Linked DNA regions of Homo sapiens: all the other regions are linked to region 2. The links are contacts of gene promoters, found by promoter capture Hi-C in blood cells and fetal thymus (Javierre and others, 2016). All regions are on one chromosome and are shown on one strand. The core of a region is centred on a gene start or on the middle of the fragment in contact, and the rest is flanking DNA. Distances in the headings are between cores, read along the strand shown. Region 1 overlaps LBP (lipopolysaccharide binding protein). Region 2 holds the start of TGM2 (transglutaminase 2). Region 3 overlaps BPI (bactericidal permeability increasing protein).

What was found. The method cuts DNA at HindIII sites, captures the fragments that hold promoters and counts their contacts. A CHiCAGO score of 5 or more calls a contact.
Region 1: a contact is called between a fragment that was not itself captured here and the fragment with the promoter of TGM2 in region 2, in 1 of 17 cell types (monocytes). The highest score is 5.4, in monocytes.
Region 3: a fragment that was not itself captured here is called in contact with the fragment with the promoter of TGM2 in region 2 in 3 of 17 cell types (neutrophils, monocytes and M0 macrophages); the score reaches 9.0 in neutrophils.

Annotation. Positions count from the first base shown.
Region 1 is chr20:38,369,744-38,373,391 of GRCh38, forward strand. It overlaps LBP (lipopolysaccharide binding protein), which reads left to right. Exons shown (of 15, transcript NM_004139.5): 11 at 995-1,062; 12 at 1,537-1,579; 13 at 3,329-3,392. Among named protein-coding and RNA genes, the nearest start is that of LBP, 25 kb to the left of the region's middle. The HindIII fragment of the contact is 3,205 bases long and covers 1-2,994 here.
Region 2 is chr20:38,162,426-38,166,519 of GRCh38, forward strand. It overlaps TGM2 (transglutaminase 2), which reads right to left and starts at 2,845. Exons shown (of 13, transcript NM_004613.4): 1 at 2,764-2,845. The coding sequence starts at 2,773. RefSeq lists a silencer at 2,698-3,137. The HindIII fragment of the contact is 3,789 bases long and covers 660-4,094 here.
Region 3 is chr20:38,305,185-38,308,848 of GRCh38, forward strand. BPI (bactericidal permeability increasing protein) reads left to right here. Exons shown (of 15, transcript NM_001725.3): 2 at 2,383-2,497. Among named protein-coding and RNA genes, the nearest start is that of BPI, 2.9 kb to the left of the region's middle. The HindIII fragment of the contact is 8,601 bases long and covers 1-3,664 here.

The DNA.
Region 1 (3,648 bases), core at 142-2,641, 210 kb after region 2:
GTCTCTGGATAATCTCTGGGTGGCCTCACCAACTCTTTACTAGCTTCTCAACAATTCCATCACTTGTATAACCAATTCCCCGTATTAAATTCCCTCTGCGTTAAACATTGAGAGTCAGTTTTCCTTTTTTGATGGACTCTGTCTAATAGGGAAGGGATGTTGGGTCCTTTGGGGGCCTTGCTCCCTGGATGGAGAACTCTGCTCTCTTGTTTCTTGACTTTTGAAATCAACAAGTCAAATCTCTACCAGGGTAATTCTTCCTAGAGGCTATATCTGCAATTTAATATTGTTGTTATTGTTATCAAAAGTGTCATTATTAATATATTTTAAATTAAAATATAATTTACTGTCTGGGTGTGGTGGCTCACATCTGTAATCTCAGCACTTTGGGAGGTCAAGGCAGGAGAATCACACAAGGCCAGGAGTTTGAGAGCAGCCTGGGCAACACAGCAAGACTCCATTGCTACAAAAAAGAAAAAACAAATAGCCAGGCCTGGTGGCATGCACCTGTAGTCCTATCTACTCAGGGGGTTGATGTGGGAGGATCGCTTGAGCCCAGGAGATTGAGGCTGCAGTGAGCCATGATTGCACCACTGCACTCCAGCTGGGCGACAGACAGAGACTCCATCTCTAAAACAATAATAATAATTTATTAATGTTGTTACTAGGGCTGAATCTTGACCTGAGATAACTAGAAATGATCCTTTTTAGAGCTTTCCAAGGGTAGGTACTCTATACCTTCTCTTAGTAGTCTGTTCAAAGTTTAACTGCTAACATAAACAACAATTTCAAGTAAAAATGTTCAAGTCCAAGTTCAAATATTGTTTGAGCACCTACAGTGAGCCTTCTGGGAGTCTATGATCTAGTGGGCAAATTTCCTGCTTTAGCTCATTGAGCTGTTTGTTGAGAGGAGACAGTTGGTCCCTCGTCATCATCCTTCCTATACATACAACCTTCATCACTTACACCTGCTTCCTTCTTCTGGCATTTCCAGGCCACTAATGTGTCCGCCACCTTGACCTTCAATACCAGCAAGATCACTGGGTTCCTGAAGCCAGGAAAGTAAGTTGGCCTCCTACCTACATGGGGGTGCCCAGCTGGACTCCATCTGTATGCTGTAGCTGCTTCTCTGTAGCTGGTGGGAGGGGGGGCCACCATTTGGAAAGGACACTTACATTTCACCCCAATTGGCCCAATTCTTCTGCCCCACTGGTCCTGCCCCCACAAATCTCAAATTGTTAAAGAATTCACTAAGACTGTTACTTCTTAATGTATGAATTTTAGAAGCCAGCTATATGAACTTCCTGAAATGATAAAGAGTGAGCTTTTTGACACTATCTCATCTGCCCTGTGACAGTCTTCCCGATGTCATTGTATCACTGCTTTTAGTTCCTCAGTCATCTTTTCCACTCCTGCTCCCGCCCTACCTTTGGCCCTGTGCCTTCTCAAGCCCATCCTTTCTCGCTTCTGGGGACCCCCGCATTGCTTAAACTTGCATAAAGCCCACACCTTTTAATCTTCTCTGATTCATTACAGGGTAAAAGTGGAACTGAAAGAATCCAAAGTTGGACTATTCAATGTAAGTTGTTTTTATTGATGACATGATTAGAATGTTAATTAATTTGGGGTGTTTCCTAAGCAATTGCTATGGCACCTATAATAGGAAATACAAAAGGAGAAGAGTTGATTTTTTGCCCTGCAGAAGTGTAAAAGGTCTCGAAAACACAAGACATAGGGCCAAGGAACAGTTATATCCTAGTATAAAACAATATATAATTAAGTCATCTACTGAACAGAATTCTCTTAACTGCAAGAGACAGAAAGCCAATTGAAATCATCTTAAGCAAAGAGGAGAAATATATAGGATTATATAATTGAAAAGCAAAAATAAACGAAAAAACTAAGACCAGAGGTTTCAGGCATAGCTGGATCCAGGTGTTCTAATTAGTGCATCAAGAATCTCTCTCCATCTCTCTGTTCTGTTTTCATTTGTGTTAGCTTCACTCTCAGGCAGGCTCTTCCAATTGGTAGCAAGCCCCAGAGTTTCCTACAGTTTCAGTTTTTTAAAAAATTTGCACACACACACACAAAATCTCTGTGCTAGCTCTCATTGGACTAATCTTAGGCACCCAGTCTTAAGCCAAGCACTGTGGCCAGAAGTCAGCCCAGCATGGATCTCATCTACACTCCAGGAGGCAGGATTTGCAGTCAGCTACATCCAAAGCACATGGACCAAGACTGGCAAGGAGGGTTGTTCCCTGGGGGAAAATAGACTCCGTTATCAAAACAAGAGGGATTGAGTGCTGAGCAGGTAAATCCAAGAAGTGATTTCCACAAGGTAGAAAAAGTGGTGAAGTAGACGGCCCCAAATAAAAGGAGGAAAGAGAACGTGAAAATCAGTGTGGGCCAAAGTTATGGAGAAGAGCTTTCTGGAAAGAGGGAAGGAGGAGCTGGGTAGACTTTAATGTGTAGTCGTTGGCTTCTCTTTTACCATTCCATGATGCTGGCCTCCACTGACCACCTCCACCTGTGCCCTGCCTCCCAGACTTTCCCGAAGCACTTATGAAGTGGAAACAAACACAGAGGCGGTGGGGAGAGATGCAGGGACCCTGAAGCTAACTCCTTTCAGAGAATAAAGGGTGGAGTGAATAATGGTGCACTCATATTGTATCTGTGCGTGTTTACTGCAAAGTAAAACATTCAAGTGAGAAGTTTCACAAAAATCCATCCTGTCGGGTTTTCAGAGCATGAAATGTAAAAACAAAAACTACAGACTCAGATACATTTAGATTCGAATCCTGATGCTGCTGCCCAGTTTGTAGTAAGTCCCTTTCATTCTGTAGGCCTCAGTTTCCCGATATATGGAATAGGGACATTAATATGAACTTTGAGGGGTTGTTGTGAAGATTGAATCAGACATGCACGTAAAGCTCTGAGCTCTCTGCTTGGCATATAGTGGGGGTTAGAAGTTGTGTTTCATGATTTTGGTAGAGAAGCTTATTTTGTTTTTATTAAATTTTTTAAATTATGTAGGTAGTTCAGGAAAAACATTCTCACTGTAAATAAAACCGATACTAAAGATAAGGCTAAGGACATGTCAAATGTTGATGTTCTTCCTTTAGAGGAAAGACTGTCGGGTGTGTAACTTTCCAAAATTTTTCTATTCACTTGCATACCAAATGTTCATCTCAAAAGAGTTTTATCTTATAAAATAGTAGCATGATGTAATACTAGTTTGCTTTTCCCAAGCGTTTTGCTATGTTGGCACACACAGAACCACCATGTGGCCCTGTGGCGATGTAAATATATCTCTCCTGTTCTCTTCCAGGCAGAGCTGTTGGAAGCGCTCCTCAACTATTACATCCTTAACACCTTCTACCCCAAGTTCAATGGTAAGAATCACTGTGGATTTTTCCAAGTCAAAAGTGAACACTGCTGTCTGGAGGAAAGAGAGTTGGACTTGGAAAACAGGGCTCTCCTGGGGGCTGTATGACCGTGGGCAAGTCACTTCTCTCTGAGCTTAGTGACCTGCCTGTGACATGGGATCGTTGAAGTTGGCCTCATCTCCCTCCAGGGCTCTAATGAGGGTTGGGGGCTGGGACAGCTCTTTGGAGCACGGGAAACCTCCTTATAAGCGGGACAGAGGGA
Region 2 (4,094 bases), core at 1,595-4,094:
AAACACAGAACCAGGATGCAGTTGACAAACTTCATATACTGGGAAATTATTGACAAAGGGTCCGGTTTCTTTAATAAATAGATTGCAAGAAAGAAAATGAAAAAAACATTGAAGAGAGAACCTATAAAGAGAAACTTAAACCCGTTGTGATGTATTGATCTATTTGGATCTTGATTTCAAAAAAGTATTTTAAAACATTTATTACATGTATGAGACAACTGGAAATTTAAATACTGATGGCATAATGGTGATATCAAAGAATTTTTGTTAATTTGTTTGTGTTAAAAAAAAGAGAGTCCTTATCCTTTAAAGGCATATACTGAAACATTGACAGATGACATGATGTGATGTCTGAGATGAAGGTGCGCAGGGGCAGGAGACACCACGGTGGTCAGTGCTGGGTGATGAGGACATAGGAATTTATTAAACAATTCTGTCTATTTTTGTGTATGTTCAATATTCTCCAAAACAAAACATTTTTAACATGATAGGTGCTTTGGAGACTTCCAGAGGTAGGTTTTAGTTCTGCTGTGTTGCTGTGTGAGCCTGGATAAGTGTCTCTCCCTCTCTGTGACTCCTCCTCTGAAGTCTCAAGGGGCTGCTGTGAGTCTAGAAGATGTGTTGGGAACCCCCTTCCCCACGGCCCAGCCCAGGACAGAAGCTTGATACGTGAAAGTTCCATTTACAGTTTCAGATGGAGCAGAGGACCAGGGCACGGTCAGGGTGACAGATGGGTGGGGGTCTTGGGGGAAAACAAATCTCATAAACCTTGGCAAGCTCAAGGTCAGGATGGGGAAGCCCTTAAGGTGGGAGGAGTGGGCAAGACAGACTCTGAGTGTGGAGCCACTGGACAGCATGTGGTCCAAGTGAGGCCCAGGGGCAGGAATTTGTTCAAAGTCACGCCGCAAGTTGGTCCTTGCAGTGGGAGAGCCCAGGTCTCCTGCTCACCATCGACTATTCCAAAAATGAGATGCAAAGTGCCTTGTATGTGAATTATCTCGACTTAAATCCCAAAACAACTCCGCTTACATAGATGCTATCATGATTCCCATTTTGTAGACAAAGACACCAGGTGGCTCCAGGTCCCAGAGCAAGTGGCTGCTTTGGGATTGGAATCCAGAGCTGTAGGATTCTGTAGGATTCTGCCCTGGGAACCACCTCACTACAGCTCAGTTTTTTCTCCAGCCCCTCTTATGACCACCCCTTCGCCACCATGTCCTGTGTTGTTCTCAAACCTGGGGGCAGATAGTTCTGCGCCACTGAAGTATCAGGGATGTCGGTCCCCGTGTAATCACAACAGAAGAGACCTCAGTGGCCAGAAGGAAAAACTTCCTGCTGGCCTATTGCGGCGAGGAAATGTTTTTGGAAACTTCAGACCCAGGGAGCTTGAGCAGGAAAGAGGCCATTGTTGTTCCCATGGAAGACCCTGGAGATACGGCCAGTCCCTGGGCTGTGGGAGCTGGGGCATTTTCTCCATCTGTTGTCCGAAGAAGGGTTTCCAGAAATCACGCCCAGCTCCAAAGATGCAGGTCTAGAATTGTAGGATTTATAGGATTTCTGCACTTAGAAAGGGCCTAGGCCTTCTAGGCCAGTGAGACCTCTGTCAGAAGTGGCCACTGTGACATGGGGCTGGAGGCTCATCATAACTGGCATCTCCAGGATCTCCCAGCCCCACTGAGCCCTGCTTTTGAGCATGGGGGTGAGAAGATGCATTGAGGACAAGCGGCCACCGAGGCGACACATCACAGTGTGTTGGGAGCTGGGCCCGAGGGAGGCAGGTGGCTGAGATCACACAGCAGGGTCAGGTGGGTCCACAGTTCCTGCCACCCATTCCTGCTCCACCTGCCCCATGTCCCTGTCCCACACCCCTTCCTGGGGGTTGCAATGGGTGCAGAAGCCATCCCCAGATGAACTTGACCCAAGAGCCAGCTGGGATTCTGGGTCCAGCAGTGACATCCTCCATTGTAGAAATCCCTCCAGCTGGGACCTACGAGAGTGCTGCTTGTGTGTGGGGAGGGAGTCAGGGGCACCAGTATGAAATTAGTTAAGCCTCTGTTCCACTCCTCTCGTTCCTCACAGATGCACCAAAGGCTGGAGCAGAGGACCAGGGCACGGTCAGGGTGACAGATGGGTGGGGGTCTTGGGGGAAAACAAATCTCATAAACCTTGTCCTATAAAATAAGGACACTGTTGTCCTTATTTTATAGGTGAGACTCAACAATTGGCCAAGGTCTAGGGTTGCAGAACGTGAGGGCGGGAAGAACAAGCCTGATTTCCGAAGGCTCCTGGATAGGATGCCGAAAGCTCCTCTCTGGCCGCTGGAGCCAAGGACTCAGCCAGGCTTGGCTTGCACACCACCGGCGTGGCATGCACACCACCTGGTCCTGGCTGGCAAGAACCACCCAAACCTAAGTGTTCTGAGGCCAGGCCAGCACCCCCTGCACAGCTCCAGGCACACATCAGAGAGCCAGCCCCCACTGACTGACTGAGGACACGTGCCAGTGGTCCGCCAGGACAGTACTTTACAGTTTACAACACCCCGTCGCGTTCCATTGCCTCACCTGATCCAGGGAGGCAAGGGTTAATGGTTATGCAGTGTGGATGGGGAAACTGAGGCTCCAAGCAGCATTGAGACGCCTCCTCACCCAGCCCGGTCTGCCTGTTGCTCTCCAAATCAGGACTTAGGGATTCAGCTCCCACCGGGTCCTGACCCCCAATGCCCCGGGGCCCCTGAGTGGCGGCTGCGGTGACTCTGATACTCACCCTCGGCCATGGTCGGGCGGGGGCGGTGGCTCCTTCCACTGGCGGCGAGACCCTCCAAGTGCGACCACTGGCGGCTGGCACTGCCGAGGCGGAGAGCGGCGCTAACTTATAGCCCGCTTTGGGGCGGGCCGGGGGCGGGGCCCCGCGGGAAGGCGGCGACCTGGGAGGCCACCCATTGCCCAGTCCCGGGCCCACGCCGCCAGCGCTGGGGCTCACCCAGGGGACCGGAGCCCGAGGGAGGGACGGCGGCCGGACGAGGGCGCCCCCTGGGGGAGCGGACAGGGACACACAACTAGCCCAGGATACAGACACACCTGGACCCACAGACTCAGACCTTGGAGAACAGACACCTGGACACACACACTCAGATACAGACACACGCAGCACCCTCATAGAAACACACAACGGAACCGGGGTGCACCTGGACACACAGATGTGGACTCTTAGGTCAGATCTGGGATCAAGAACACCTCCCCACCCCCAACACACACACACACACACACACACACACACGCACACACTCACACACATACTCAGATATACATACACAGAGAGCAGACGCAGACACACCAAGACAGGGCTGTGGAGATACACACACAAACACAGATACACTCCCACAGATACACCAAACACGGCTGGCCACGCAGACACAGTGACATGGATACAAATTCAGATTCGAATGGCAGACACACACCAGGACATAGATACAGCCTGACACAGCCAGGTAGCCTTGACCGCGAGCCACACACAGCTGTGGACACAGATGAGCAGGTGTCCAGAGGCACCTGGCACACACACAGACCTCCTAGACACCAATGCCACTGTCAGATGTGGACGCAAAATCAGAGAGGGCACCCACAGACACACAAAGATGTGGCTACTCAGAGGTAGACACACATGCAGGCATGGACTCAGGTACAGACATGCAGACACACCTGCAAAAACAGACACACCCATGTCCCTTCCTGTAGCAAAACCCAGATAATCCTCCGATCTCACCCATCCTTGTATCTGTCTAATCAGCCATCCATCTAATCAGCCATCCATCTACCCATCCATCCACTCACCCATGCATCACCTACCCCCCCACCTATCCATCCACTCATCCCTTCATCCATCCCTCCCTCGGCCTTCTCTTCCCTCCCTCCCTCAATCCATCCATCCACTGAGCTTTCTTGAGGCCCCACTGTGTGCCAGAAAGGAGCAAGACTAACTTTCCAGGGACTCAGCCTAGGACTTCTCGAACCTGGCAACCAGGGGTCCTATCTCTCATCCTGGTATCTCTGGTCTCTTGGTCTCCTGTGCTTCCGGATCCACTGTGAGCCCTGAGC
Region 3 (3,664 bases), core at 1,055-3,554, 140 kb after region 2:
GTATCCCACCCCTGAATTCCCACCCCAGCCCAGCAGGACATCACTGAATCCTAGAGCTGCAGACAGAAGGCCACAGAAGACAGAAGAGCTAGGGGGAAGGAGTATGGCCCTGAAGCCTGTCGACACAGAGGCTCAGTCAGGGTCTTTAAGTTCAGTGGTCTTCATGCTCCGTCATAGCAGCCTGAGTTTCCCCTTCTACCCAGGCCCCTTGTGCCAATCGGAGTGAGTTTTCTGAAATGCAGCAAATCCCTACACATCCTCCCCTGGCTCACATTCTCCATGGCTCCCTACTGCCTTCAGAAGCTATCCTGACCCTTTGGCATGGCATTTGAGACCCTTCGAGGCCTGGCCCCTGTCAACTTACAGATCCTGGCCACTGCACATTTTTTTTTCCCTCCACACAGTGACCAGTTATGTGTCATTTACTTTTGAACCCCCAGAAAGCCTTCTCTAGGGCATGGGCTCTGGGACCAGAAGGCCTGGGTTCAAATTCTGCCCCTTGTCCGCTGTGTGGCCCCTAGCAAGTCACCTCAGCTTTCTGAGCCTCAGCTTCCTTATCTGTGAAATGGGGGTAGTGACAGGACCTACTTCCTAGGATTGTACAAATTCATACATATACGGAGCCTAGAACAGTGCTTGGCACAGAGTAAAGCTCGATACATTTCATTGATATTATTATTTCCTAACTGGCTCCGAGAAAACCCAAAGTCTGGGCTCCCTCATCTTACTACTTACTCCTTTTCAGGTAATGTGTCTGCCTTTTAATTGGTTCTTTGATGCTGTTAGCCACATTATAACTGGTGGTAGAATTCCTGCCATTAGGACATTATTTATTCATCTAATAAATCTTTTTTTGTTTTGTTTTGAGACCGAGTCTCGCTCTGTGGCCCAGGCTGGAGTGCAATGGTGCCATCTCAGCTCACTGCAACCTCTGCCTCCGGGGTTCAAGTGATTCTCCTGCCTCAACCTCCCAAGTAGCTGGGATTACAGGCGTGCACCATCACACCCAGCTAATTTTTTGTATTTTTAGTAGAGACGGGGTTTCACCATGTTGGCCAGGCTGAACTCTTGAACTCTTGACCTAAAGTGATCCACTTGCCTTGGCTTTCCAAAGTGCTGGGATTACAGGCGTGAGCCACCGCACCCAGCCTCATCTAACAAATCTTAAGTGCCTTCAAAGTGTCAGGCACAATGGGAATGTAAGGGACACACGAGTAAATAAAACAGATTGCTGCTGACTTCAGGGGGCTTACATGTAATAGGGGAGAGACATTCGTCAGAGTCACGTGAATAAATGCATAATTACAAATGGTAACAGGGGCTCCGAAAGAGCAGTCCACAGCATCATGAGAATAACACAGGGCGTTGCTCTGATCTACTAAGCCAGGGAGGGTTCCCAGAGGAAGTGATGAATGAGCTGACTAGAAGCTGACCGGGTGAATATGGGAGGGAAGAATTTCTTAGGGAGCAAGAATAGCATGTGCAAAGGCCCTGGGGAGACAGTCCAAAACCCAGAGAGGTGGGAGATCTGTGGGGGTGTAGCATAGAGCAAATAACAAATTAAGTATCCAACAAAAACTAGCAGGAGGCATAACTGGGTGTTTCAGGGGTGATATTTTAGACCAGGGGTCAGCAAACTACAGCCCTCCGTTTTTGTATGGCTTATAAGACAAAAATGGCCTTAATGTCTTTAAATGATGGGAAAAAAATCAAAAGGGCCGGTCATGGTGGCTCATGCCTGTAACTCCAGCACTTTGGGAGGCTGAGGTGAGAGGATCACTTGAGCCCAGGAGTTCGAAACCAGCTGGGCAACATGGTGAAACCCCAGATCTCTGCAAAAATGTTAAAAAAAAATTTTTAAAAAGTTAGCCTGGTGTGGTGGCGAACACCTGTGATCCCAGCTGCTAGGGAGGCTGAGGTGGGAGAATGACCTAAGTGCAGCGGGTCGAGGTTGCAGTGAGCCGTGATCATGCCTCTGCACTCCAGCCTGGGCGACACAGCGAGACCCTGTCTCAAAACAACAACAAAAGAAGAAAAATACTATCTCACAACATGTGAAAATTATATGAAATTCTCATTTCAATGCCAACAAATAAAGTGTTATTGGAATACAGGCACATATAAGAACATGATATTGTCTATGGCTGTTTTGTGCAGTAATGGCAGAGCTGAGTATTTGTGACAGAGGCAATATGGTTTCCTATAAAGGGTCAGTTTACTATTTGGCCTTTTCTAGGAAACCTTAATTGATCCCTGTTTTTGACCCTTCCAGTGCCACTGTCCATGCTACGAACAGGGGCCCAGGGTCCAGAGCCTGCCCTGCCCCTCTGTCCCCTGCTCCAGGCTGTGCCTCTCACTGTCACCCCTGCCTTCTCCCTTCAGCCAGCCAGCAGGGGACGGCCGCTCTGCAGAAGGAGCTGAAGAGGATCAAGATTCCTGACTACTCAGACAGCTTTAAGATCAAGCATCTTGGGAAGGGGCATTATAGCTTCTACAGGTGAGGCCTATCAGAGCTCAATCCTCGATTTGCAGGACTTGTAGTGTTCTGGGGACACCAAGAGCTAGAATGCAGAGCCACAAACTCCTCAACTCACAGAGTTTCATATCCCAAAGCCTGCATTTACATCATCCCAAGGGGAGGCAACCTCCCAGCTGAGCGTGGAGGAAGCCACAAAAACCACGACTCCCAGGAAGTGTGTCATGAACCCCCAAACTCTGCGCCATATGTCAATTAGAATGTGCAAGTTTTCAAGGTCAGAAAATCTTTTCTAAAATGGCTTAAGGCAGAATGCATTGGCTCACATGGCCGGAAAGTCTCTGGAAGAGTCTGGCTTCAGGTTCAGCTTGAGGCAGGCTTACATGTCACTGGGCCCTGTTTCTCTCTTGCCACCTCTCAGCATCACTTCCTTGGACAGGCCTAATTCGCAGGCAGTGTGTCCCCTCCAGAGGCAAGACAGCCACCAGTAAGTCTCTCTAGATCTCCTGCTCAGCACTCTGAACAAAGAGCCCTAAGACTCACTCTGACTGGCCCACCTCAGATTATATACACAGCCCTGAGCCAATCACTGTAGCCAGGGAATGAAATACACTACTTGGCCGAGCCTAAGTTGCAAGCTCCACCCCCGAAGATGGACGTGAGGTCAACTTTCTTTGGAGTGGCATGGAACAGATATGGGGAGGGGCTTCCCCTAAATAATCTAGTAGTTCTGTTATCACAAGAAGGGGGCTGTGCACTGGGCAGAAAACCCATAAAAGTCCTCTACAGTTTTATACACCCATTCATTCACAGATATTTTGAGCACCCACTGTGTGTCTGACACAGCAGGCTTTGGGGCTGCAATAGTGAAACAAGACAGAGCTATACAGAGCTCTTCTGTACAGAGCTTCCAGTGAAAGGGCCTTCTATTTTATCTTCATTGATTGCCACACACCCTGCAAAATAGCAATCACTGTGCCCATTTTACAGATGAGGAAACTGAGGCTGGGGTAATTATGCCCAAGGTAACCCAAGAGTATATTAAAGAGCAGGATTTAAATGCAAGTTTTTTCTGACTTCAAAACCTAAGCCACTCCAGTTGCCTACATATCTGCCAAGCCTGCTTTCTTAGCTTTGGGCTCCTCCTGGAATGGATGGAGTGAAGGACCAGGTGGTGGGGGACGAGTC